5 separate regions of the Homo sapiens genome follow, and all the other regions are linked to region 1. The links are contacts of gene promoters, found by promoter capture Hi-C in blood cells and fetal thymus (Javierre and others, 2016). All regions are on one chromosome and are shown on one strand. Each heading gives the region's core, a stretch centred on a gene start or on the middle of the fragment in contact. The rest is flanking DNA. Distances are from core to core; before and after follow the strand shown.

Region 1 (4,823 bases), core at 1,374-3,873:
AATTCTTCTTTGACCTCACAATCAGCCCCAGTGCAGGCCATTTCAGTTTCTTGCTTTCCAGCCAGTCTCCTTGACTCTAGATTTTTACTCCTCCTATCCTTTTCTCCTTGCAAAATCCAGAGTGATTTTCTTTAAGGCAAATGTTGCCGGGTTCGGTGGCTCATGCCTGTAATCCCGGCACTTTGGGAGGCCAAGGCGGGTGGATCACCTGAGGCGGATGGATCCGCCTGGCCAACATGGTGAAACCCCGTCTCTACTAAAAATACAAGAATTAGCTGGGTGTTGTGGCAGGTGCCTGTAATTCCAGTTACTCAGGAGGCTGAGGCAGGAGAATGGCTTGAACCTGGGAGGCAGAAGTTGCAATGAGCCAAGATGGTGCCACTGCACTCCAGCCTGGGCAACAGAGCCGGACTCTGTCTCAAAAAAAAAAGACAAATGTTTTGTCTATCTCTAACTTAAAACCCTTCCATGGATCAAAAAGTACCAAGGAAAATGATGTTACTTAAAATTATAAAGGTAGGCCAGGCATGGTGGCTCATGCCTGTAATCCCAGCACTTTGGGAGGCTAAGGTGGGAGGATTGCTTGAGGCCAGGAGTTCGAGACCAGCCTGGGCAACATAGCGAGACTCTATCTAAATTTTAAAAAAAGTTAATTACAAAGGTAACCTTAGATGAACTAAAAAGAGTGATAGAAATATGTAGTGCCAGGCCGGGCGCAGTGGCTCACACCTGTAATCCCAGCACTTTGGGAGGCTGAGGCAGGCAGATCACGAGGTCAAGAGTTCGAGACCAGCCTGACCAACATGGTGAAACCCCCGTCTCTACTAAAAATACAAAAATTAGTCGGGCATGGTGGCACGTGCCTGTAATCCCAGCTACTCAGGAGGCTGAGGCAGGAGAATCGCTTGAACCCAGGAGGGCAGGTTGCAGTGAGTCAAGATCGTGCCACTGCACTCCAGCCTGGGCGACAGAGTGAGACTCCATCTCAAAAAAAAAAAAAAAAAGAAAAAAGAAAGAAAAGAAAAGAAATATATATTGCCAATGGGGGAAAGGAACTACAGAGTGTGAGTTAAACCCATATATCCATATTTATCTGAATAGGACAATAAACAGCAGATGAATGTTTAAAATTGAGAAGTAGTGTGGCTGGGCATGGTGGCATACTCCTGTAGTCACAGCTGCTTGGGAGGCAGGAGGATTGCTTGAGCCCAGGAGTTTGAGTCCAGCCTGGGCAATGTAGGAAGACCCTGTCTCTAAAAAAGAAAAAATAGTGGTAGGATTTACAATAAGAGGATAGTTACTCCTACCCTACCCTTTCACACCTCTAGGCCCACTCCCAATTGGCAACCACTTTTAGTTAACTCTAAACAATAACGTTATGGGTATGAACACCAAAAGAAAAAAAAAAACTAAAAGTTATTTTTTGCCAATTGGGAGTGGGCCTAGAGGTGTGAAAGGGTAGGGTAGGGGTAACTATCTTCTCATTGTAAATCCTTCTGCAACCATGGGCTGGAATTACTTGAATTAAAAGCCTAAACAAACCAGAGTTTTCATGGCTGTTCATTACCTGTTAAATAAAACCCAAACATCTCAGAACCATTTTCTGTAACCTTGTTACTCAAAGTGTGGTCCCTTATTACTTGAAGTGTGGACCAGCAGCATGGCCATCACCTGGGAGCTTATTAGAAATGCAGGATCTTGGCTGGGCGCAGTGGCTCACACCTGTAATCCCAGCACTTTGGGAGGCCAAGGCAGGCGGATCACTTGAAGTCAGGAGTTCAAGACCAGCCTGGCCAACATGGTGAAACCCTGTCTCTACTAAAAATACAAAAATATTAGCTGGGCATGGTGGCGCATGCCTGTAATCCCAGCTACTCAGGAGGCAGAGGCAGGAGAATTGCTTGAACCCAGGGAGGCAGAGGTTTGTAGTGAGCCAAGATCGCGCCACCACGCTACATCCTGGGCGACAGAGCGAGACTCTGTCTCAAAAAAAAAAAAAAAAAAAAAAAAAAAATGCAGGATCTCAAGCCCCACCCCAGATTTACAAAATCAGAACCTACATTTTAACAAGATCCGCAGATAATTCATACGCACAGTCAAGCTTAAGGAGCATCTTGCTTGTAAGCCCAACGTGGACCTCTTCAGCTTCAGTACTGGTTGCCCTTTTCTACTCCGTTAGCCTGAATTCTAGCCCCTGGGGGGGGGGGGTGGTGTGTGTGTGTGTGTGTGTGTGTGTGTGTGTGTGTGTCTAGCTAAAATCCAGTCATCGTTTTATACCCAATTCCTCTGCTCCAGGAAGACTTCCAAGCCCTCTGCAGCTCTCTGTTACCGCTGTTCCTTAAACTCCCACATCTCTGACTGAAGCTGCTTAGACTTCATTCTGCAAACATGTATTGGGCGCCTGCTGTGTGCCTGGCTGGATTCAGTGCCAGGGTGGGGCGAAGGCGCTGAGGTCTCCGAGTGCTCTTTCAGGTCCAACTCCAGAATCGCCCAGCCCCACGCAATCCAGGGCCAGAGGTTGTGTGCGCAGCACTCGAATACATCCACAGACGGTGCTGCGCGGCTTTTCTGAGTGTTACGGCGCCCTCCTCCCGCCCCCGCGCCGCGCGGGCGGGGACCCACCGGTTTTGCTCCGCTTTAGCAGCGGCGAAGGGAGGACCCCCGGGAGCCGGTCCCCGGCGTCCGGTCGCCCAGCCCTTTTCAGGCTTGGGCCCGCATGGAGGGGACCGTGGAGTCCCAGACGCCTGACCTGCGGGATGTGGAGGGTAAGGTGGGCAGGAAGACCCCTGAAGGGCTGCTCCGCGGGCTGCGAGGCGAGTGTGAGCTGGGAACCTCTGGCGCCCTGCTGCTCCCAGGGGCGTCTAGCACCGGCCACGACTTGGGGGACAAGATCATGGCGCTGAAGATGGAGCTGGTGAGTGCTGAATCCATGGGCCAAGGGGACGAGTCCCTAGTGTAGGGCCGGGAGGGACGAACTCATGCTCCCAGAGTTAAGCTGGAGAGGAGGTAGTTAAAACTCTCCACCTAACTGCTCAGAATCCCTCCCAGATCAATCCGTAAACGCTGGGGTGGAGATGGAGTGACGTCCATTACTTGTCCCCCAAGAGTGAGTGGGGTGTTGATGGTCCTGAGGACTTGGGTTGGGAGCAGTGGGTTTTGGAAGTTATTCCTGCCAAATAATTGGGAGGAGAGAGATGAGGACTGGGAAGTACTGAGAACCCAACGCAGCACAAATTCCCCCCGCCTGTATGGGCCACCTATTCCCCGCCAGTCCCCGTTGTAAGGCAACCGGTTTTTTCTCCTTCTGCTAACCGGGAAAGGGTTTAAGTTCCTGTGAGGCCGCAGTGTTCCGCACAGAAAAGAAGTGGGTAAAGGGGCCTATCTGCTGAAAACTACCTGGACCAGGGGCACTGAAAACCTTCTCCGTTTCCTCTACATCCCCCAGCCCTACTTAAAATAATGGAAAGTTCCTAGACCCATAGCAGGGACAGAGAGTAGCAGCACCACTGGTGCTGATTCCCTCGCCTCAGACTCAGTCTCCTCCCAGCCAGTCTTCCAGGTAAACTGGATATTTGGATCTCATCTGTACATTCTTGGGGAGAAGAGGAAACAGCAACCCTCCCCTTTCTCTATTGCTGCTGGTCTAGATTCAGAGCCAAAAGGGCAGCCGAGGCCCTGGCAGGTTCCCCAGGGCCCTGATTCCGGTGAAGTGGGTGATTTACACCTGCCACTACTTTGCAGCCAGTTCTGGGGAACTGAGGAATTGCCATCGGCTTCCTGGCTCACAACCAGGAGCCCACAGTGAGTACGTCAGCTAAAGTCTTCCTGTGTGCCCAGCCTGTGCCAAGCTGGTCTGTGAAGGAGAAGGGGAAGGAAATCATGGGGGCTCTGAGACCAGCCAGGGCTCCGACGCCTGAGCTGAGAGGCTGGGAAGAGAGTCTGGTGGGTGGAGCAGTCAGGAAAGGCCCCCTGGGAGAAGGACTTGAATGCCAAGTGTGCACTTGGCCTTGAAGGTTGGAGGTGAGTGCCCAATTCTCCAGAGCAAGGCTGTGACTGTACCCACCTAAGCGGGGGCTTGCCTTTGCCTCACTGTACAAACTTTAGCTCAAGGCCTAGTAAGAGCCTATCTAGACTGTCTACTTGCTTTGAAAACTTTCACCCAGTGCATGTGCCAGGCAGCTTGCTGAGCACTTTACATGATGCTCTCTTCATCTCCACAGTAACCCTGTTAAGTGATATTTTATAGATGGAGAAACTGAGGCACAGGGTGGGCATGGTGGCTCACGCCTGTAATCCCAGCACTTTGGGAGGCCGAGGCAGGCAGATCGCTTGAGCCCAGGAGTTTGAGACCAGCCTGGGCAACAAAGCAAGACCCTGTCTCTACAAAAAATACAAAAATTAGATGGGTGTTGTGGTGTGTGCCTGTAGTCCTAGCTACTCTGGAGGCAGAGGCAGGAGGATCACTTGAGCCCAGGAAGAGGAGGTTGCAGTGAGCTGAAATCGCACCACTGCACTCCAGCCTGGGTGACAGAGCTCAGAGCTAGACCCTGTCTCAAAAAAAGAAGGGGAAGAAGGGGAGGAAGGGAGGAAGGGAGGGAGGGAGGAGAAAAGAAAAGAAAACAGAGGCACAGGGAGTTTAATAACTGCCCAACATCACGCAAAAAGCAGGGCCATGATTTGAACCCAGATCATCTGACTGCACTTTGCATCTTTACTTTGAGACCTGCTTTGTGCCAGATAGTCTGAACATTTTATGTCATTGAAATGAGAAAACTGGTCATCATTTCTCCCATCTTACAGATAAAACGTGCTTGCAGATTCTG
Region 2 (4,823 bases), core at 1,556-4,055, 500 kb before region 1:
TGCCTCAGCCTCCTCAGCAGCTGGGATTACAGGCATGTACCACCACCTGCTGCCAATTTTTTGTATTTTTAGTAGAGACGGGGTTTCACCATGTTGGCAAGACTGGTCTTGAACTCCTGACCTCAAGTGATCTGCCCACCTCAGTCTCCCAAAGTGCTAGGATTACAGGCATAAGCCACGGTGCCCGGCCTAAACCAAATAATTTGGATATGAGTGCTACCTAATTCATTAATGCAATTAAAAGTTTTCTATCTAAATAAGTTGATGATGCTTATAGTAATATACTGAAGGACCTTAGCAAAGAAATGGGAAATCGGCAGAGTGCGGTGGCTCACACCTATAGTCCCAGCACTTTGGGAGGCCAAGGTGGGCAGATCACAAGGTCAGGAGTTCAACACCAGCCTGGCCAACATGGTGAAACTCCGTCTCTACTAAAGATACAAAAAATTAGCCAGGCATGGTGGCTCACGTCTGTAATCCCAGTTACTCGGGAGGCTGAGGCGGGAGAATCGTTTGAACCAGGGAGGCAGAGGTTGCAGTGAGCTGAGATCACACCATTGCACTCCAGCCTGAGTGACAGGGCAAGACTCCATCTAAAAAAAAAAAAAAGAAACGGGAAATCAAATCCTTAAGTCAACTAGTTAAATTTTACTGTATGCAGCCGGGCACGCTGGCCCATGCCTGTAATCCCAGCACTTCAGGAGGCCAAGGCAGGTGGATCACCTGAGGTCAGGAGTTCGAGACCAGCCTGGCCAACATGGTGAAACCCCATACAGAAAAATTAGCTAGGCATGGTGGTGGGCGCCTGTAATCCCAGCTACTTGGGAGGCTGAGGCAGGAGAATCGCTTGAATCCGGGAGGCGGAGGTTGCAGTGAGCCGAGATCACGCCTTTGCACTCCAGCCTGGGCAACAAGAGCAAAATTCCATCTCAAAAAAAAATTTTTTTTACTGTATGCAAGACCTTTAATATATATTGCTCCAACTGGCCAGTAGAAATAACTTAAAAGTAACCGCATCATACACCCAGTAAATCTTTCTCTTAGAAATGAACAGAGAACAATTCTTTAGAATGCTTCTCAGGGAGAAAATGAGAAGTTTTGAGAAGCAGTTTTGTTTGGGTCAAGGGGTACTTTCAAATTACACTTATGAGTCAGTATCTATAAAAAGTTTCAGAAGTACCTACAATTTAGCCCTCTACATCCAAGCAGTAGCTTTGCAGTATGCTCTTACTTAGGTTTGCCCAAGTACAAATAAATTTTACAAAGCTTGATAATCTAATAAAATTCCCTCTTCCTAAAGCCAAACAGATAATTTTGGTGACAACAATCTAGCAAAAAAGGAAGAATTTTTTTTTCTTTTTTTTTTTTTTTTTTTGAGACAGGTTCTCATGCTGTCACCCAGGCCGGTGTGCAGTGGCACAATCTTGGCTCACTGCAGCCTTGACCTCCTGGGCTCAAGTGATCCTGCAACCTCAGCCTCCCAAGCAGATGGGACCACAGGTACAAGCCACAACGCCCGGCTAATTTTTATATATTTTTTGGTAGAGACGGAGTCTCATCACGTTGCCCAGGCTAGTCTCGAACTCCTGAGTTCAAGCCATCTTCCCGTCTCACCTCGGCCTCTCAAAGTGCTGGGATTACAGGTGTGAGCCACCATGCCCAGCCTAAAAAAGGGAGAAATTTCTAGGTGCATACTGCCTGCTGGACTGTATAGCCCATTACAACATCTGGTCACTAAGAACCTCCTATTAATTCCTTACTTGCATTCTCAGGATCAAGACAAAAAATATGAGCAAGCAAAAACTTATCATCAAGCAAAAAGGTATCTATCTATTAAAATAGCTAGATATTTCCCAAACACCCCTCCTAGGATATCTGCTGCCAATAAAAAGTTTGGGGCTAGTGAAAACTCTTGGCATTAAATAAAAGTAGGAATCTATTTCATTGGCTTTCTCTGTGGCTCAAACTATGGCCATGGAAAATTATGCTCTGGATATAATTGTGAATATAGAGGTCTTTAAACTGTGTCATTGACACTATTCCTATATCACATAAAGTTTTATGTTACAATTTATACTGCACTGGAGAAGTAGCTAAAGGGACTATTTGCCAGGAAGCTTCTAGTAAATAATTTCTACAAATTTGTAAAATAGGAGTTGTCTACACTTAAACTGGAGAATTCTACAGCATAAATGGCATTTCTATTATTAGTAAACCTGGCAAATCTGTGTGAGCTCTTTATTAATTGGGATATATTCCATATCCATTCTCACTCATATTTTTAGAAAAATCATTCTTGAGTTTATTTTTTTTCTTTAAGAGACAGGATCTCATTCTGTTGCCCAGAGTGGAGTGCAGTGGCATGATCGTAGCTTACTACAACCTCAAATTCCTGGGCTCAAGTGATCCTTCTGCCTCAGCCTTCCAAAGTGCTGGGATTATAGGCATGAGGCCACTGCGCCCAGCCTCGTTAGTCATTTATCTACCAAATACATGGAAAACTCACAGAATCAGAGGGTCTTATCACCAAATCTATGTTTGCTTTGCAAAAGGTCAGGTCCTGCATTTTCAAAATGTTCCTTGTGCTCTGTTATGCTTTATATTTCATAGCACAGCAACGCCCCCTTCACAACGACTGGTGATCATGTTACCAATTTCTGTCCATGTATCTGAATGAGGGTTATAAACTTCAACTGAGTCCAAGGTACCTGGAGCCAAAAAATCATGGCTGGAAGATCGACCTCCAGAAACATACAGAAGACCATTGACTGCCACAACACACATGCCTGCTCTAGGCACTTTCATTGAGGCAACTTCAACCCACTTTTCCTGGTTAAGAGAGAAAAAAAAAATATGTTAGCAGTGTTATGAAATGATAGTAAAGAAATCCACTGAGAAATTCGATATCCCAGTTCTTTTTACATGTTTAAATGTAAAACTATCTAGTCAGGTAAGCATACAGATTTTTTTTTCTTTTTTTTGCTTTGTTTTTTCCTTGGAGACAGGGTCTCGCTCTGTCACCCAGGCTGGAATGCACAGCAACGATCTCGGCTCAGCGCAGCCTCAACCTCCCAGACTCAAGAGCTCCTCTTGCCTCAGCCTCCTGAGTAGGTAGGACTACAGGTGTACACCACCACACCTAGCTAATTTTTCTATTGTAGAGATGGAATTTCACCATGTTGTCCAGGATGGTCTTAAACTCCTAAACTCAAGTGATTGTCCCACCTCAGCCTCCCACAGTGCTAGGATTACAGGTGTAAGCCACAGCACCCGGCCCAGAATATTTTAAAATAAACTTGAAGTGGGCATGAACAAAGTAAATTTAGAGGAATATAATTTTTTAAAAGGTCTGATTATAAAACATGATCAGGAAATGACCTAGAACTCATACACAGGACAACATTCTAAGAAACAAAGTCTATGGAATACAAGTAGGTAATACACTCAAAAATAAGCAAATAAAAACAAAAGAACCACAAAGCTCCAAGGAGAAAGAAGCTTATAAACCAAAGGATTTTTTAAAAGCCTTTAGTATTTTAATGAGTCTTAAAAATGTCCAAGAGAATGACACAGCATGGAACACCTGACAAATTTATTTGACCATGGAATCCTTTTTACAAGGAGCATCCAGTGGAGTTAGTAATCTGCAGAACATATTTTCAAAAAGGTGGGCTAACCAGGGGTTGGGAACTATAGTCTACTTTGGTATAGCCTGAGAACAAACAATGATTTTCCCATATTAAAAGGTATTTTTTAAAAAAAGACAAAGCATATATCAAAAAAGGATATTGTGTATGGCCCACAGGCCAAAAATATTTACTATCTGGGCTTTTACACAAAAAGTTTGCTAACTCCTGTTATACATCATTCCCTGAAGAAATTTCAATGTGCTGCTATAGCCAAAATGACTAGTAGTGTCTTACTTTTTTTTTTGTTTTTTTTTGAGACGGAGTCTCGCTCTTGTTGCCCAGGCTGGAGTGCAATGGTGTGATCTTGGCTCACTGCAACCTCTGTCTCCCAGGTTCAAGCGATTCTCCTGCCTCAGCCTCCTGAGTAGCTGGGATTACAGGAACCCGCCACCACGCCTGGCTAATTTTTAGTATTTTTGGTAGAGACAGTTTCACCGTGTTGGCCAGGCTGGTCTCAAACTCCTGACCTCAAGTGATCCACCCGCCTTGGCCTCCCAAAGTGCTGGGATTACAGGCGTGAGCCACCGCACCCAGCGACTAGTAGTGTCTTACTTGAGGGAAAACGTCCATACTCAGAAAACAAGAAAGCTACTAAAGGTCCTAAGAAGTAATTAGGAGAGCAAAGAGCAAGTGGCCAGGTAATGGGAGAACAGATTATCAATCTTTAAATAAAGCATATGATGAACAAAGTTTTTTTAATCATAAATAGTGAAGACTGATTATTCATCAATGCTAGAAAGTAAATTTTTGAGGACAGGGACTTGAGCTTCTCATCCCAGTACCCACATAGGTACTAGGATAGTGCCATCATATTATAAACAGTTAGTGTATGTTTGCTGATGTGAACTTAAATAAGATTATGAAATACTAAACCAGGGACAATTCTTTGAAAGTGAAGGACTAGATTAAATTTGAAAGCTATTTGATCATCTGAAATTACACAGCACATCACAAAACTGACACAACTGAAAAATACTTACATTTTAAAATATAAATACATTCTCAAGAAGATCCATTTCTGGTTAAGATAAATTAGGATAATTTAGGTTATGTTTGTAATTAGGGAGAACCTTTGCTCTCCCACAAAATGCCCCTTGACAATAACAAAGGGACCTTAGGGCTCATCCTATATTG
Region 3 (4,823 bases), core at 627-3,126, 390 kb before region 1:
AGTGTGACAGAAATTTTAAAAAATTATTTTAATGGAAATCAGAACCTCTTTCCTCTGCATTACAGGGTTAGTACATTGGGAAAAGCATAGGGCAGAAAGCACACAGAAGGGAAGCTGCGTAATATATATAGGGAACTATAATCGGTTTGTTATTGCCAGACCCAGAGCTTTACGTTGAAGGTGTAAATGCTAGGTTAGAGATTAAAGAAGCCTTGATTGTTGAGGGTCTTTAGTGTGATATAAAAGGATAATTGGCTGGGTGTGGTGGCTCACGCCTGTAATCCCAGCACTTTGGGAGACCAAGGTGGGTGGATCACCTAAGGTTAGGAGTTTGAGACCAGCCTGGCCAACATGATGAAACCCCATCTCTACTAAAAATACAAAAATAGCCAGGCGTCTTGGTGGGCGCCTGTAATCCCAGCTACTTGGGAGGCTGAGGCAGGAGAATTGCTTGAACCCGGGAGGTGGAGGTTGCGGTGAGCCAAGATCGCGCCACGGTACTCCATCCTGGGCGACAGAGCGAGACTCCATCTCAAAAAAAAAAAAAAAAAAAGGATAATAAGTAGGGGAGCAGTATATTCTTTTTTTTTTTTTTTGAGGCAGTCTTGCTCTGTGGCCCAGGCTGGAGTGCAGTGGCACGATCTCAGCTCACCGCAACTTCCACCTCCCAGGTTCAAGCTATTCTCCTGCCTCAGCCTCCCAAGTAGCTGGGATTACAGGCATTGGCCACCATGCCTGGCTAATTTTGTATTTTAGTAGAGACGGAGTTTTTCCATGTTGGTCAGGCTGGTCTCAAACTCCCGACCTCAAGTGATCCACCTGGCTCGGCCTCTCAAAGTGTTGGGATTACAGGCGTGGGCCACCGTGCCTAGCCGAGAGCAGTATATTTCTTTTTTTTTTTTTTTTTGAGACGAAGTCTCGCTCTTGTCTCCCAGGCTGGAGTGCGATGGCACGATCTCGGCTCACTGCAGCCTCCCCCTGTGGGGTTCAAGCAATTCTCCTGCCTCAGCCTCTCGAGTACCTGGGATGCCACCACGCCCAGCTAATTTTTGTATTTTTGTATTTTTTTTTTTTTTTTTTGAGACGGAGTCACGCTCTGTCGCCCAGACTCGAGTGCAGTGGCGCGATCTCGGCTCACTGCAAGCTCCGCCTCCCGGGTTCGCGCCATTCTCTTGCCTCAGCCTCTGGAGTAGCTGGGACTACAGGCGCCCACCACCACGCTCGGCTAATTTTTTTGTATTTTTAGTAGAGACGGGGTTTCACTATGTTAGTCAGGATGGTCTCGATCTCCTGACCTCGTGATCTGCCCTCCTTGGCCTCCCAAAGTGCTGGGATTATAGGCGTGAGCCACCGCACCCGGCTTTTTTTTTTTTTTGACACAGAGTCTCACTTTGTCACCCAGGCTGGAGTGCAGTGGCCTGATCTTGGCTCACTGCAAGCTCTGCCTCCCGGGTTCCCGCCGTTCTCCTGCCTCAGCCTCCCGAATAGCTGGGACTACAGGCGCCCGCCACCACGCCCAGCTAATTTTTTTGTATTTTTAGTAGAGACGGGGTTTCACTGTGTTAGCCAGGATGGTCTTGATCTCCTGACCTCGTGATCCGCCTGTCTCGGCCTCCCAAAGTGCTAGGATTACAGGCGTGAGCCACTGCGCCTGGCCTAATTTTTGTATTTTTAGTAAAGATGGGGTTTCACCATGTTGGCCAGGCTGGTCTGGACCTCCTGACCTCAGGTGATCTGCCCGCCTTGGCCTCCCAAAATGCTGGAATTACAGGTGTGAGCCACCGCGCGCGGCACAGGAGCAGTATATTCTTATTTGTGTTTTAGTTGGATTACTCTGGCAACTGTGTGGAGGATAGGATGCAGGACATGCTGTTTGAGACATGAGCATTTGAGAAATCTTCCGAGTTTTCAGTGCAAAAGTTTATTTGACCTCCTTTCCCTCTTATCCAGGGTATGGGTAAGGGCTAGCTCCTAAAAAGGTGTTAACTTTGAAATATTTAGTTTCATCAAAAGTACTGGGAGCAGAGAGTCTATGGTGGCTTGAAGCAGGTTGGCAAATGTTCCCTGATGAGGGTAGGACACATGTGATTACAGAGTTTTCCCATCATTGTTCTGGATGTCTCTTGGCCTAAAGATCAATCTGTAAGCCTTTTTTTTTTTTTTTTTTTTTAGACGGAGTCTCGCACTGTTGCCCGGGCTGGAGTACAGTGGTACCATCTTGGCTCACTGCAACCTCCGCCTCCCAGGTTCAAGTGATTCTCCTGCCTCAGCCTCCCAGTAGCTGGGATTACAGGCATGTGCCACCACGCCTGGGTAATTTTGTATTTTTAGTAGAGACTAGGTTTCTCCATGTTGGTCAGGCTGTCTCAAACTCTCGACCTCAGGTGATCCGTCCACCTCGGCCTCCCAAAGTGCTGGGATTACAAGCATCGGCCACTGTGCCTGGCCCTACTCCTATTTTTAATAGTCCGTGTAACATTTTCATTTGGATAGCTCAGAGACCTCTCAAACTTAACATGTCCAAAAATGAAGTCTTGATTTTCACTTTCTAGTCTGCTTCTTCCCCAGTCTGCCTCATGTCAATAGATGGCACTACTCATTTACCAGAACAAAACTGGAGGTTGTGTTTGATTTTTTTCTTAACCTTACCTGTATTCCACATTCAGCCCCTCAGGTCTGTTTGCTGCTACAGTTGTCCCTCAATATCTCTCGGGGATTGAGTACATGACCCCCTGCAGATACCAAACTCTGGTATGCTCAAGTTCTATCTATAAAATGGCATAGTATTTGCATGTAACCTATGTATATCCTCCCATGTACTTTAAATCATCTCCAGATTATTTATAATATATAATACAATGTAAATGCTATGTAAATAACTGTTACACTCTATTACTTAGGGAATAGTGACAAGAAAAAAATATCTATACATGTTCAGTATAGATGGAACTATTCATTTTCTTTTTCTCTGCATACAGTCATGTTCCGCATAATTATGTTTTAGTCAATGATGGATGACATACAAGATGGGGGTCCCATAAGATTATTATTATTATTATCATTTTTTTTTTGAGACCGAGTCTTGCTCTGTTGCTCAGGCTGGAGTGCAGTGGTGCGATCTCAGCTCACTGGAACCTCTGCCTCCTGGGTTCAAGCAATTCTCCTGCCTCAGCCTCCCAAGTAACTAGGATTACAGGCAGCCGCCACCACGCCTGGCCAATTTTTTTTTTTTTTTTTTTGAGACGAAGTTTTGCTCTTGTCCCCCAGTCTGGAGTGCAGTGGCACGATCTTGGCTCACTGCAACCTCTGCCTTCCGGATTCAAACAATTCTTCTGCCTCAGCCTCCCGAGTAGCTGGGATTACAGGCTTCTGCCACCACACCTGGCTAATTTTTATATTTTTAGTAGAGACAGTGTTTCACCATGTTGGCCAGGCTGGTCTCGAACTTCTGACGTCAGGTGAGCCGCCCACCTCGGCCTCCCAAAGTACTGGGATTATAGGCATGAACCACTGCGCCTGGCCAGATTATAATTTTTTTATTAAAATTTTTTTTTAAATAGAGATGAAGTCTTGCTATGTTGCCCAGGCTGGTCTTGAGCTCTTGGCCTCAAGCAATCCTTCTGCCTTGGCCTTCCAAAATGTTGGGATTATAAGCATGAACTATTATGCCTGGCTTCCCATAAGATTATAACAGAGTTGAAAAATTTCTATTGCCTAGTGACATCTAGCTATTACAACATTGTAGTGCAACACATTACATGTTCATGGTAATGCCTGTGTAAAACCTACTGCACTGCTGTGGTATAAAGGTACAGCACATAGAGTTAGTGCATGCACAGCACATAATACCTAATGATGATAATATACAACTATGTTACTTGCTTATGTATTTACCATACTATACTTTCTACTGTTATTTTAGAGTGTACCCCTACTTATTAAAAAAAAAAGTTAACTGTAAAACAGCCTCAGACAAGTCCTTCAGTGTAATTCCAGGGAAGGCATTGTTACCATAGGAGATGACAGCTCCATGTCACCTCCATTATTGCTCCATTATTGCCCCTGAATACCTTCCCATGGAACAAGATGTGGAGGTGGAAGACAGTGATATTGATGATCTCGACCCTGTGTAGGCCTAGGCTAGTGCGTATGTTTGTATCTTACTTTCTAACAAAACAGTTTAAAAAGTAAAAAAAGAAAATTTTTTTAATAGAAGAAAGCTTATATAATAAGGATAATGAAAGAAAATATTTTGTATAATGTAAACACATACACCAAGGCGGGTGTATCACCTGAGGTCAGGAGTTTGAGACCAGCCTGGCAAACATGGCAAAACCCCGTCACTACTAAAAATACAAAAATTAGCCCAGCGTGGTGGCGCACGCCTATAGTTCCAGCTACTTGGGAGGCTGAGGCAGGAGAATTGCTTGAACCCGGGAGTTGGAGGTTGCAGTGAGCCAAGATCACGCCATTGCACTCCAGCCTGGGCGACAAGAGCGAAACTCTATCTCAAAAATAAAAAGAAAAAGCTATCTTGACCTTTGATTTGTTGGTGTTATTAAACTGTTCTTTTATTTTATTCAGCTTGAAAGGAGACTTTAATTTGTGCATTTTCCCCTTCAGGGAAACTTTTATGGATTTTTTTATTAAGTAACTGGCTTAGAAGATAGAATAGTCTCCCTAGGTTTTAGAATGTAATTAAGAAAAATTCAGCCCAAGGGAACCATGTGTTAAAATTAGGTGATACCATCTTAGTTGTACCAGCTTGAGTGTAGGTTCCTTAAGAGTGAACCTGAGTAGTAGATGCATATATCCTTTAACCA
Region 4 (4,823 bases), core at 927-3,426, 350 kb before region 1:
AAAGAAAAATTTTTTATACTACCTTTATGTGTACAATCTCTTTTTTTTTTCAATCAGCTTTCTTAGGTTGAAAAATGTCTTTAATTTTGATGAAGTTCTGATTGTGTTCTTGGTGTCATGTCTAAGAACTTTTCACCTATTCCTAGGTTCTGAAGATTTTCTCCTCTGTGTTCTTTTAAAAATTTACAGTTTTATTTTTTACATTTAACTCATGATCAATTTTGAAGTAATTTTTGTGTATAGTGTGAGTTGTAGGTTAAGCTTATTTTTTTATTCAGCTCATGGATGTCCAGTTGTTCTAGTATAAGTTATTGAAAAGTGTGTCCTTTCTGCATTGAATTGCTTTTCCACTTTTGCCAAAAATCAGTTGGACATATTCAGGCCGGGCACAGTGGCTCATGCCTGTAATCTCAGCACTTTGGGAGGCTAAGGTGGGCAGATCACCTGAGGTCAGGAGTTCGAGACCAGCCTGGCCAACATGGCAAAACCCTATCTACTAAAAATATAACAATTAGCCAGGAGTGATGGTTCATGCCTGTAATCTCATCTACTCGGGAGGCTGAGGCAGGAGAATCACTTGAACCCGGGAGGCAGAGGTTGCAGTGAGCTGAGATCGTACCACTGTACTGCAGCCTGGGTGACAGAGTGACCCTCTGTCTCAAAAAAAAAAAAAAAAAATTGGACATATTTGTGTGGTTTATTTCTGGGTTCTCTTTTCTGTTCAGTTCACTTATGGGACTCTCCTTCTGCCATTACCACAATGTTTTGATTACTGCTGCTATATAGTAAGTCTTAACATTGGGTAGAGTGATTCCTTACACTTACTGTTCTATTTCAAAATGGTTTTAGTGATTTTTTTTCTTTCTACATAAATTTTAGAATAAGCTTTTTTATATCTACAAAAAGTCTTGCTGGGATTTTGATAGGAATTACATTAAACCTATAAAGAAATATGAGATAAAGGAAAAACTAAACTTTTACCTACTCTCAAACTCACCACAACACAGGACCCTTCTGACACCACATTTATGGGTTTTTTTTCCCTGTACACCAAACAGCAGACAGAAGCTGGGTGCCTTATAATTTAACTCAACTCCTATACTGCATGCCTGGAATAAGCATCAGATCCCATAGGCTAAGGCCCTGTCCCATAAGATTGCCCCTACTTTAGATCCAGTTTCAGTCCTAGCTGGTTTTACCTGTTCTTTTGACTGACCAGCTATAAATTGGATACAGATGAACCACCAGGTGGAGAAGCACATAGGATGAGGCAGGTGGGAAGGAGTGTGGAGCTTCACCCGCTCTGGGCTCACTATCCTCCAGGTACCTGCATGTGGTCAGGATCCTGGAAGCTCTCTGAACCCTGTACTTCACTGATTTTCATGGCAGCTTTATCACATAGGCATGATCCCCTTCCCAGAGGATTGGAGGGTGAGGTGGAAAGTTCCAATTTTCTAATCATGGCTTGGTCTTTCTGGTGCACAGCCTCCATACAGGAGCCCAGTTAACATTCCCTTTGTTAGAACAGAAGGCATGTCTATCACCCAATAAATTCTAATGGATTGGGAGCTCTGTGTCAAGAACTAGGATGAAGACCAAAAAATATATATTTTTATTATAAATCACGATATCACAATAAGTTTTGAGGAGAAATGGCTTTTTTTTTCTATTTGATTCTTCTGACCCATGAAAATAGTGTGTCTCTGCATTTATGTAGATTTTTAATTCTTTTCATCAGCATGTTGTAATTTTTAGCATACATATCTTGTATGTGTTTTGCTGCATTTCTGTCTCTAAGTATTTTATCTTTTTGTATTTTCATGCTGCTTGCCAGGAACAGTCTCAGTCCCTCAGCGCTGGTAATTTATTTCAAGTGGGGTTGAAATTTAAGAGGTCAGATAGAAAAAAGAAATGAGATGAAACTTTTTTTTTTGCAACTTTAAATGATGTTGTATTTTAAATTTTAGTTTTTACATGTTTGTTGCTACTAGTATATAGAAATATGGTTGGTTTTCGTGTGCCGATCTTGTATCCGGTGAGTTTGCTGAACTCATTTAGGAGTTTTTCTTGTAGATTGAGCATTTCTACATAGGCAATCATGTCATTTTCAAATAGGACAGTTTTATTTTTTCCAATCTATATATTCCTTTTCTATCATTTTCTTTCTTTATTGCTCTGGCTAGGATTTAATTAAACACTGAATTTTTATTCTGGTAGTGCTGACTTCAGGAGCCTAATTTGGGACTAGCAAATGCTAGTTTTACTCACCTTATCATTACAGTTTCAGATCTTCGGCTTCTCTTGGGCTTCAGAAGTTTAACTTGGATTGATCTTGAATATTGATCTTGAATATGCTGAAGGCAGGAAAAGCTCTGTCCTGAGTGTATACACAGTGCAATATAATTTTTATTTATTTGCCTCCCTTGAGTGTGAGCTTCTTGAAGAAGACAGTTCTGAAGATACAGGGCTTGGTACACAGCAAACTTGTAATTAATGTTTGAGGTCAGGCATGGGTGGCTCACATCCGTAATCCAATGCTTTGGGAGGCTGAGGTGGGGGGATTGCTTGAGGCCAGGAGTTCAAGACCAGCCTGGGCAACCTAGCAATATCCCGTATCTAAAAATAATAACAGTTACAATTGTTTGTTGAGCAAATATTTAAATGAATAAATGGAACTAATATGTGGCTTCTTCTCATATAAGAAGTCTAGGGAAAACCTTTTCAGACAAGGTATAGTGTAACTCAGGTTGAAATGACAAATGTGAGACTATTTGCAGTCACACACGCAGTTGCACATGTGATTTTGACATCAAACATTTTTGTTTATTTTTGTTTACTTGCATGCCTTGTAAGTTTCATGTTTTACTAACAAGACACTTTATTCTTTGAGTGTTACATGTCGTTTGGTTTGGCTTGCTTCTGTATGTTAAAAAAACGTTCTGTCTTTTGAAAAGATACCATTATCTAATTGGTTTTAAGTTAGGAGAATTCTAAATTACAGGGCACAGTAAAATAAATGAGCAATTATACCGAGGAAGAGCAAAACAAACAAAAAAGAATCATGGAACCATGTTTTGTATATACGTGGGGAGAAGTTATCCTTTAGATCTGTTTTTTTTTTTTATGTGAGTATGCTTGAATGTATATGTCATGAGGGTAGTGGGCTGGGCTGAGCTGGGGAGGAGATGTGCATCATATGTAGGGAGTAGACTTAAGCTAGTTATTTTTAAATAATACTTTAGCAAGGGAATTAGTACTTGTTTAAGTGTTCATATTGCCTTAATATTAGCATAGCTTTTTCATCAATATGTTCAGTATCTCAAACGTCAAATTTGCATGAAAATATTCTCCCAAACCCCTAATCCTTCCCTGTTTTATTTTTCTTCATTGCATTTATTATCTTCTAACATACTGTATATTTTATGTATTCATTTTTTGTTTAATGCCTGTCTACATCCACTTGAATGTAAGCTTTAAGAGGTCAGGGATTTTTATCTATTTCTATTAACAGTTGTATAGCTAGGCCCATGATATCATCTGGTACATAGAGAATACTTAATTTGTAAATCAATGAAAGGAAGACTACTTTGAAAAGAGTGATTTCTAGGATATTGGAATGAGGAATCTTAATCATAAGCCTATGTAAATGATAAAATATTATCCCTATGGAATAGCAGGAAAGTCATTGTCCTTTTACCCTGAGGAGCATATTTGTCCTCTATAAAAAGGCCTTTCTATTTGGAAGGAATTTTACTTGATTGATTGACTCTCTGTTTAAGCAACAAATGAAAAAGAATCCTTTGTTGAGAAGCTACCACAGACTGTAAAGTTTCCAGGTTCTGTACTTTGTGCTGGATGGGGCACCACTGTGATGGGCCTGATGAGTCTCTGAGACTGCTGCAGGACTTGGATTTTGTAACTAAAGTTAGTTCTTATTTTTATACTTTAAGTTCTAGGGTACATGTGCACAATGTGCAGGTTTGTTACATATGTATACATGTGCCATGTTGGTGTGCTGCACCCATTAACTTGTCATTTACATTAGGTATATCTCCTAATGCTATCCCTCTCCCCTCCCCCGACTCCATGACAGGCCCCAGTGTGTGATGTTCCCCTTCCTGTGTCCAAGTGTTCTCATTGTTCATTTCCTACCTATGAGTGAGAACATGCGGTGTTTTTTTTTTTTTTTTTTTTTTTGTCCTTGCGATAGTTTGCTAAGGATGATGGTTTCCAGCTTCATCCATGTCCCTACAAAGGACATGAACATATCCTTTTTTATGGCTGCATAGTATTCCATGGTGTATATGTGCCACGTTTTCTTAATTCAGTCTATCATTGATGGACATTTGGGTTGGTTCCAAGTCTTTGCTATTGTGAATAGTGCCGCAATAAACATACGTGTGTATGTGTCTTTATAGCAGCATGATTTATAATCCTTTGGGTATATACCCAGTAATGGGATTACTGGGTCAAATGGTATTTCTAGTTCTGCATCCTTGAGGAATTGCCACACTGTCTTCCACAATGGTTGAACTAGTTTACAGTCCCACCAACAGTGTAAAAGTGTTCCTATTTCTCCATATCCTCTCCAGCACCTGTTGTTTCCTGACTTTTTAATGATTGCCATTCTAACTGAAATGAGATGGTATCTCATTGTGGTTTTGATTTGCATTTCTCTGATGGCCAGTGATGATGAGCATTTTTTCATGTGTCTGTTGGCTGCATAAATGTCTTCTTTTGAGAAGTGTCTGTTCATATCCTTTGCCCACTTTGTGATGGGGTTGTTTGTTTTTTTCTTGTAAATTTGTTTGAGTTCTTTGTAG
Region 5 (4,823 bases), core at 870-3,369, 320 kb before region 1:
GAGAACAGCCTGGGCAACATAGTGAGACCCTGTCTCTACAGAAAAATTTTAAAAATCAAAAAATTTTGTATTGTCCAGGAATTTTCTCATTAAGGCAACATTTGAGCAGAGAACAGGAGTCTGGAATGAGTGATACTGAGATAGAGATAGATCGATAAATATATATGTATATATTATATATATTTATATACTTATATAAGTATACATATATATTTATATATTGTATACATATTTATATATGTATCTATAAGTACACACACACACACACACACACACACACACACACATTTATAGTGACATTGGTCAGATTAGGGAAGAGAGCTGTTACATTCTAATACGCAAAATGCAAACATCATCTATGCCTGCCACGATAAGGGCTTTATTGGGGCAAGGTGGTTATGAAAGTTCTTTTGGCCTGGCTCATACCATTTATTTTAGATGTAGCTTCCTGAAACTAAATCATTTTCATTTTTAGAAAGCTATTTCATATTTAAACCCATCTGGGTATTTTTTTAATGCATTAAAAATGTAGTTTAGAATATCAGACCTAAGGGAGTTGATAACTTTGTTCAAAGTACAATATCTGTGAAAAGAAGATTTTGAAGTTCTAAAGTTACTTGTATCTGTTTACCCAGGCTAGAAGGGTTTTATATTTTACTTTTTCATAATTGAAGCAGCTCTGAATGGCTTTTCTTGCCCAATGCTATAGTGGGGGCCTCTTTTTGATGATTCCTTTCAAATAGGATTGTTTCTTTTGCTGTTGTTGTTATTTTGTTTGTTTTTGTGACAGGGTCTCATTCTTTAGCCTAGGCTGGAGTGCAGTGGCGCAGTCTCAGCTCACTGCAGCCTGGTCCTCCCTGGCCTCAGGAGATCTTCCCATCACAGCCTCCTGAGTAGCTGGCACCACAGGCACCTGCCACCACATCTGGCTAATTTTTGTATTTTTTGTAGAGATGGGGTTTCACTATGTTACTCAGGCTGGTCTGGAACTCCTGAGCTCAAGCTATCTGCCTACCTTGGCTTCCCAAAGTGCTTAGATTACAGGCATGAACCACAATGCCTGGCGACTGTTTATTTTGTTTGTGAATTTCAGCACCAGTACCTAGACCCTGCATTTGGGAGCTTAATGTAAATAATGCTTATGTCTCCAGTTACCCTGAAAGTAAAGCTTTTCTAATACCCATTAGGCTTAAGATAATTTTCCTCATATTTCATGAAATGTCTTGCTTTATTTCTTAGAGGCTATGAGCAGTCAATTGAGATAACAGACTGTAGGAGTGGAGAGGTAGCTGTTGGTTGCATTCATCATGGGGTATGTGTATATGTGTGTGTTGATATTATTGGCATTGCTGGCTTGTAGTCTTTAGAGCCCTTGGGGATAGTTAACCTTTTATTTTGTCAGCTTATTCATTTGGGCAGTGGACTTAGATACCAGATATTGGATGAAAGTTAATGTCTGGTGTCTGCAGTGATAGGCACTGCATAGTGGGCAGGGAGGAGTTCCTGGGCCCCAGGGATGTGATGTGTCAAACTTTGTTCCTATGAAACTGACAGTGTCATGTACTTTCCCATTCTGATGCAACTTGATGCCTGGATCAATGCTTCTGGAAAATGTGCTAAAAAGAGATACCACCTGCTGCATACACATAATAAACCCTTTGTTGAGGTATCAGTGGCGTCTGATATAGGGCTTTAGGTTTTCTGTGGGGCTTTGAAAATCAGGAAATTTTGCAATCTTTCAAGACTCTAAAGCCCAGAGTGATAGCTTTGTGTTACATTTAAGACCCTGTCTTTTAAAAGTTGGTGGGAAGTAATTTCATATAGATTCTCTAAGTGTCCAATGGGAAGGCAGGACGTAGCAGAGGTTGGGAGGGAAGTAGCCATAGTCATCACTCATATCCCTACAGGGAACCAGTTTGTTGTTAAAAAATGGATGTAGTTGTTGGCGAGCTTTACCTGTGTAGGTGGGATCTGAAAATCCTTGAGAACCTGTTTTTGTTACTGTATGTTGAGAATAGTTGTCATGCTCATTATCCCCACATTTATATCGCTAGATCTCATAACTGTCCATTCACCATAATGTGACTGAATATTTCAGAGACATCTGAACTGCAGCATTTATGAATCTGAGTCATTGTCTTTCTCAAAAATCAGGTCCTCTCTTATACTCTAGCTTATTAAATGGTACTGCTTCCTCAAGATAGAAAATTTAGTTATTTTTGTTGCCATGCTCTTCCTTACACTCACAAGTCTTTTCTGTTATACCTCTCAAATATCTCTTGGTGTTCTGTCTTTATTTTTATTTTATTTTATTTTTTTGAGACTGAGTCTCGCTCTGTGGTCCAAGCTGGAGTACAGTGGCGCCATCTGGGCTCACTGCAAGCTCCGCCTCCCGGGTTCACACCATTCTCCCACCTCAGCCTCCTGAGTAGCTGGGACTACAGGCCCCCACCACCACGCCCGGCTAATTTTTTGTGTTTTTAGTAGAGACCGGGTATCACTCTGTTAGCCAGTATGGTCTCGATCTGCTGAACTTGTGATCCACCCACCTCGGCCTCCCAAAGTGCTGGGATTACAGGCGTGAGCCACCGCGCGCGGCCTCTTTTTTTTTTTTTTTTTTTTTTTTTTTTTTTTTTTTGAGATGGAGTCTTGCTCTCTCGCCCAGGCTGGAGTGCAATGGCACAATCTCGCCTCACTGCAACCTCCGCCTCCCAGGTTCAAGTGATTCTTCCGCCTCAGCCTCCCCAGTAGCTGGTACTACAGATGTGTGCACCACGCCTGGCTAATTTTTTGTATTTTTAGTAGAGACGGGGTTTCACCACGTTAGCCAGGATGGTCTCAATCTGACCTCATCATCCATCCGCCTCGGCCTCCCAAGTGCTGGGATTACAGGCCTGAGCCACTGTGCCCGGCTGGTGTTCTCTCTTTCTTTATACTACCACTGGTTTGTCCAGATAGTCACAGCCATTGTAATCTCTTGCCTCTGCTACTGCCATAACCTCCTAACTGGCCTTTCTTTATCTGGCATTGCTCACCCTCAGTCTACCTAACTATCATACAATAGCCAGGAAAAGCTTTTTAAAATGCGGATTTCATTATTAGATATTAATTTAAACTTTTTTGGTGAAATTTTTTTTTTTTTGAAACAGAATCTCACTTTGTCACCCAGGTTGGAGTACAGTGGTGCGATCACGGCTCAGTGCAGCCCCAGCCTTCCTGGGCTCAGGTGGTACTCGCACCTCAGTCTCCCAAGTAGCTGGGACCACAGGTGCACGCCGCCACACCCAGCTAATTTTTGTACTTCTTGTAGAGGTGGGGTTTTGCCATGTTGCCCTGGCTGGTCTCAAACTCCTGGGCTAAAACTACCTGCCTTCCTCGGCCTTCCGAGGTGCTGAGATTACAGGTGTGAGCCTCTGCACCTGGCCTTTGGTGAATTTTTTCTTACTCTTAGGATCACACCTGACTATCTATACAGTGTGGTTGCTATATTTTTCTCCATGTTTTACACAATGTGTTCTCTGTGCCTGGAATTTTTGTTTTGTTTCGTTTTGTTTTGTTTTTTTGAGGCAGAATCTCACTCTGTTGCCAGGCTGGAGTACAGTGACGCAATCTTGGCTCACTGCAACCTCCACCTCCTGGGTTCAAGCAATTCTCTTGTCTCAGCCTCCTGAGTAGCTGGGACTACAGGTGCACGCCATGACACCCAGCTAATTTTTTTTTTTTATTTTTAGTAGAGCCAGGGTTTCACCACATTGGTCAGGCTGGTCTCGAACTCCCAACCTCAGGTGATTAAGCAATTCTCCTGCCTCAGCCTCCCAAGTAGCTGGGACTACAGGTGCGCTCCACCACGCTGAGCTAATTTTTATATTTTTAGGGTTTCACCATGTTGGCCATGATGGTCTCAATCTTTTGACCTCGTGATCCGCCTGCCTCGGCCTCCCAAAAGTGCTGGGATTACAGGCATGAGCCCCCGTGCCCAGCTGGAATGTTCTTTTTCCATCTATACCAATCTAGTTCCTACACACCTTTCAAGTCCCAGCTTACACCTCACTTCCTTATGAAAGGCGTTCCTGACCTCACCCAAACCTTGCTGTCTGTAGACTAAGTTGGGTTTCCCAGAACATACTTTCAATAAAGCCTCTACTTTTTCTTCATAGCTCTTACATCAGTTGTAAATAAAGAACTATTTGTCTGCCTTTTCCCGTTGTGTAGTATGTAAGTATTAGCTCAGGCTGCTGTAACAAAATACCACATGCTTAAATAACAAAAATTTATTTTCTTACAGTTATGCAAACTAGTAGTCCAAGAAGGTGACAACATGCTAAGTTTCTGGTAAACCTCTCTTCCTGGCTTGCAGAGAGTGGCCTTCTTGCTGTGTGCTCACATGGCCTTTATGTGGTACACCAGCCTGAGGATAGGGGCATAGATCTGTCTCTTCTTCTTTTTCTTCTTCCTTCTCCCTCCTTCCTTATTTTTTCCTTCATTTTCAAGCCCAACAGTCCTATAGGATTAGAGCCACCCCTATGACCTCATTTAACCTTAATTACTTCCTAAAGAACCTATATGGAAATATAGTCAGATTGGGGGTAAAAGCTTTAACATGAATTTTGGGGAGACACAGTTTAGTCCATAGCAGATGGTAAGCTCCGTGAGGTCAGGACCATGTTGTGCGGTACAATATGCTGATCCCAGAGCCTACTATAGAGTTTAACACAAATTGGCAATCATTTGAACTTGTTCCAAACATTGGTATGGTCTGGCACAAGAATACAAATAGAGGTATACACGTTTAATCATTTAAAATAGAGCTACCAAATTGTAAA

What was found. The method cuts DNA at HindIII sites, captures the fragments that hold promoters and counts their contacts. A CHiCAGO score of 5 or more calls a contact.
Region 2: a fragment that was not itself captured here is called in contact with the fragment with the promoter of LURAP1 in region 1 in 3 of 17 cell types (M1 macrophages, fetal thymus and M0 macrophages); the score reaches 7.3 in M1 macrophages.
Region 3: a contact is called between a fragment that was not itself captured here and the fragment with the promoter of LURAP1 in region 1, in 1 of 17 cell types (M0 macrophages). The highest score is 5.6, in M0 macrophages.
Region 4: a contact is called between a fragment that was not itself captured here and the fragment with the promoter of LURAP1 in region 1, in 1 of 17 cell types (erythroblasts). The highest score is 5.1, in erythroblasts.
Region 5: a contact is called between a fragment that was not itself captured here and the fragment with the promoter of LURAP1 in region 1, in 3 of 17 cell types (M0 macrophages, endothelial precursors and erythroblasts). The highest score is 5.6, in M0 macrophages.

The regions. Positions count from the first base shown.
Region 1 is chr1:46,200,711-46,205,533 of GRCh38, forward strand. LURAP1 (leucine rich adaptor protein 1) reads left to right here and starts at 2,624. Exons shown (of 2, transcript NM_001013615.3): 1 at 2,624-2,914. The coding sequence starts at 2,717. It also overlaps a transcript of POMGNT1 not described here. RefSeq lists a silencer at 2,545-2,664. The HindIII fragment of the contact is 3,345 bases long and covers 2,100-4,823 here.
Region 2 is chr1:45,697,362-45,702,184 of GRCh38, forward strand. IPP (intracisternal A particle-promoted polypeptide) reads right to left here. Exons shown (of 9, transcript NM_005897.3): 9 at 1,350-2,829. The coding sequence ends at 2,605. Among named protein-coding and RNA genes, the nearest start is that of TMEM69, 12 kb to the left of the region's middle. The HindIII fragment of the contact is 1,381 bases long and covers 2,116-3,496 here.
Region 3 is chr1:45,810,277-45,815,099 of GRCh38, forward strand. The region is part of intron 1 of MAST2 (microtubule associated serine/threonine kinase 2); the gene reads left to right. Among named protein-coding and RNA genes, the nearest start is that of MAST2, 9.1 kb to the left of the region's middle. The HindIII fragment of the contact is 4,684 bases long and covers 1-4,218 here.
Region 4 is chr1:45,853,677-45,858,499 of GRCh38, forward strand. All of the region lies in intron 3 of MAST2 (microtubule associated serine/threonine kinase 2), which reads left to right. Among named protein-coding and RNA genes, the nearest start is that of MAST2, 52 kb to the left of the region's middle. The HindIII fragment of the contact is 2,586 bases long and covers 884-3,469 here.
Region 5 is chr1:45,886,062-45,890,884 of GRCh38, forward strand. The region is part of intron 4 of MAST2 (microtubule associated serine/threonine kinase 2); the gene reads left to right. The region is part of intron 2 of LOC105378694 (a long non-coding RNA gene); the gene reads right to left. Among named protein-coding and RNA genes, the nearest start is that of MAST2, 85 kb to the left of the region's middle. The HindIII fragment of the contact is 1,906 bases long and covers 1,167-3,072 here.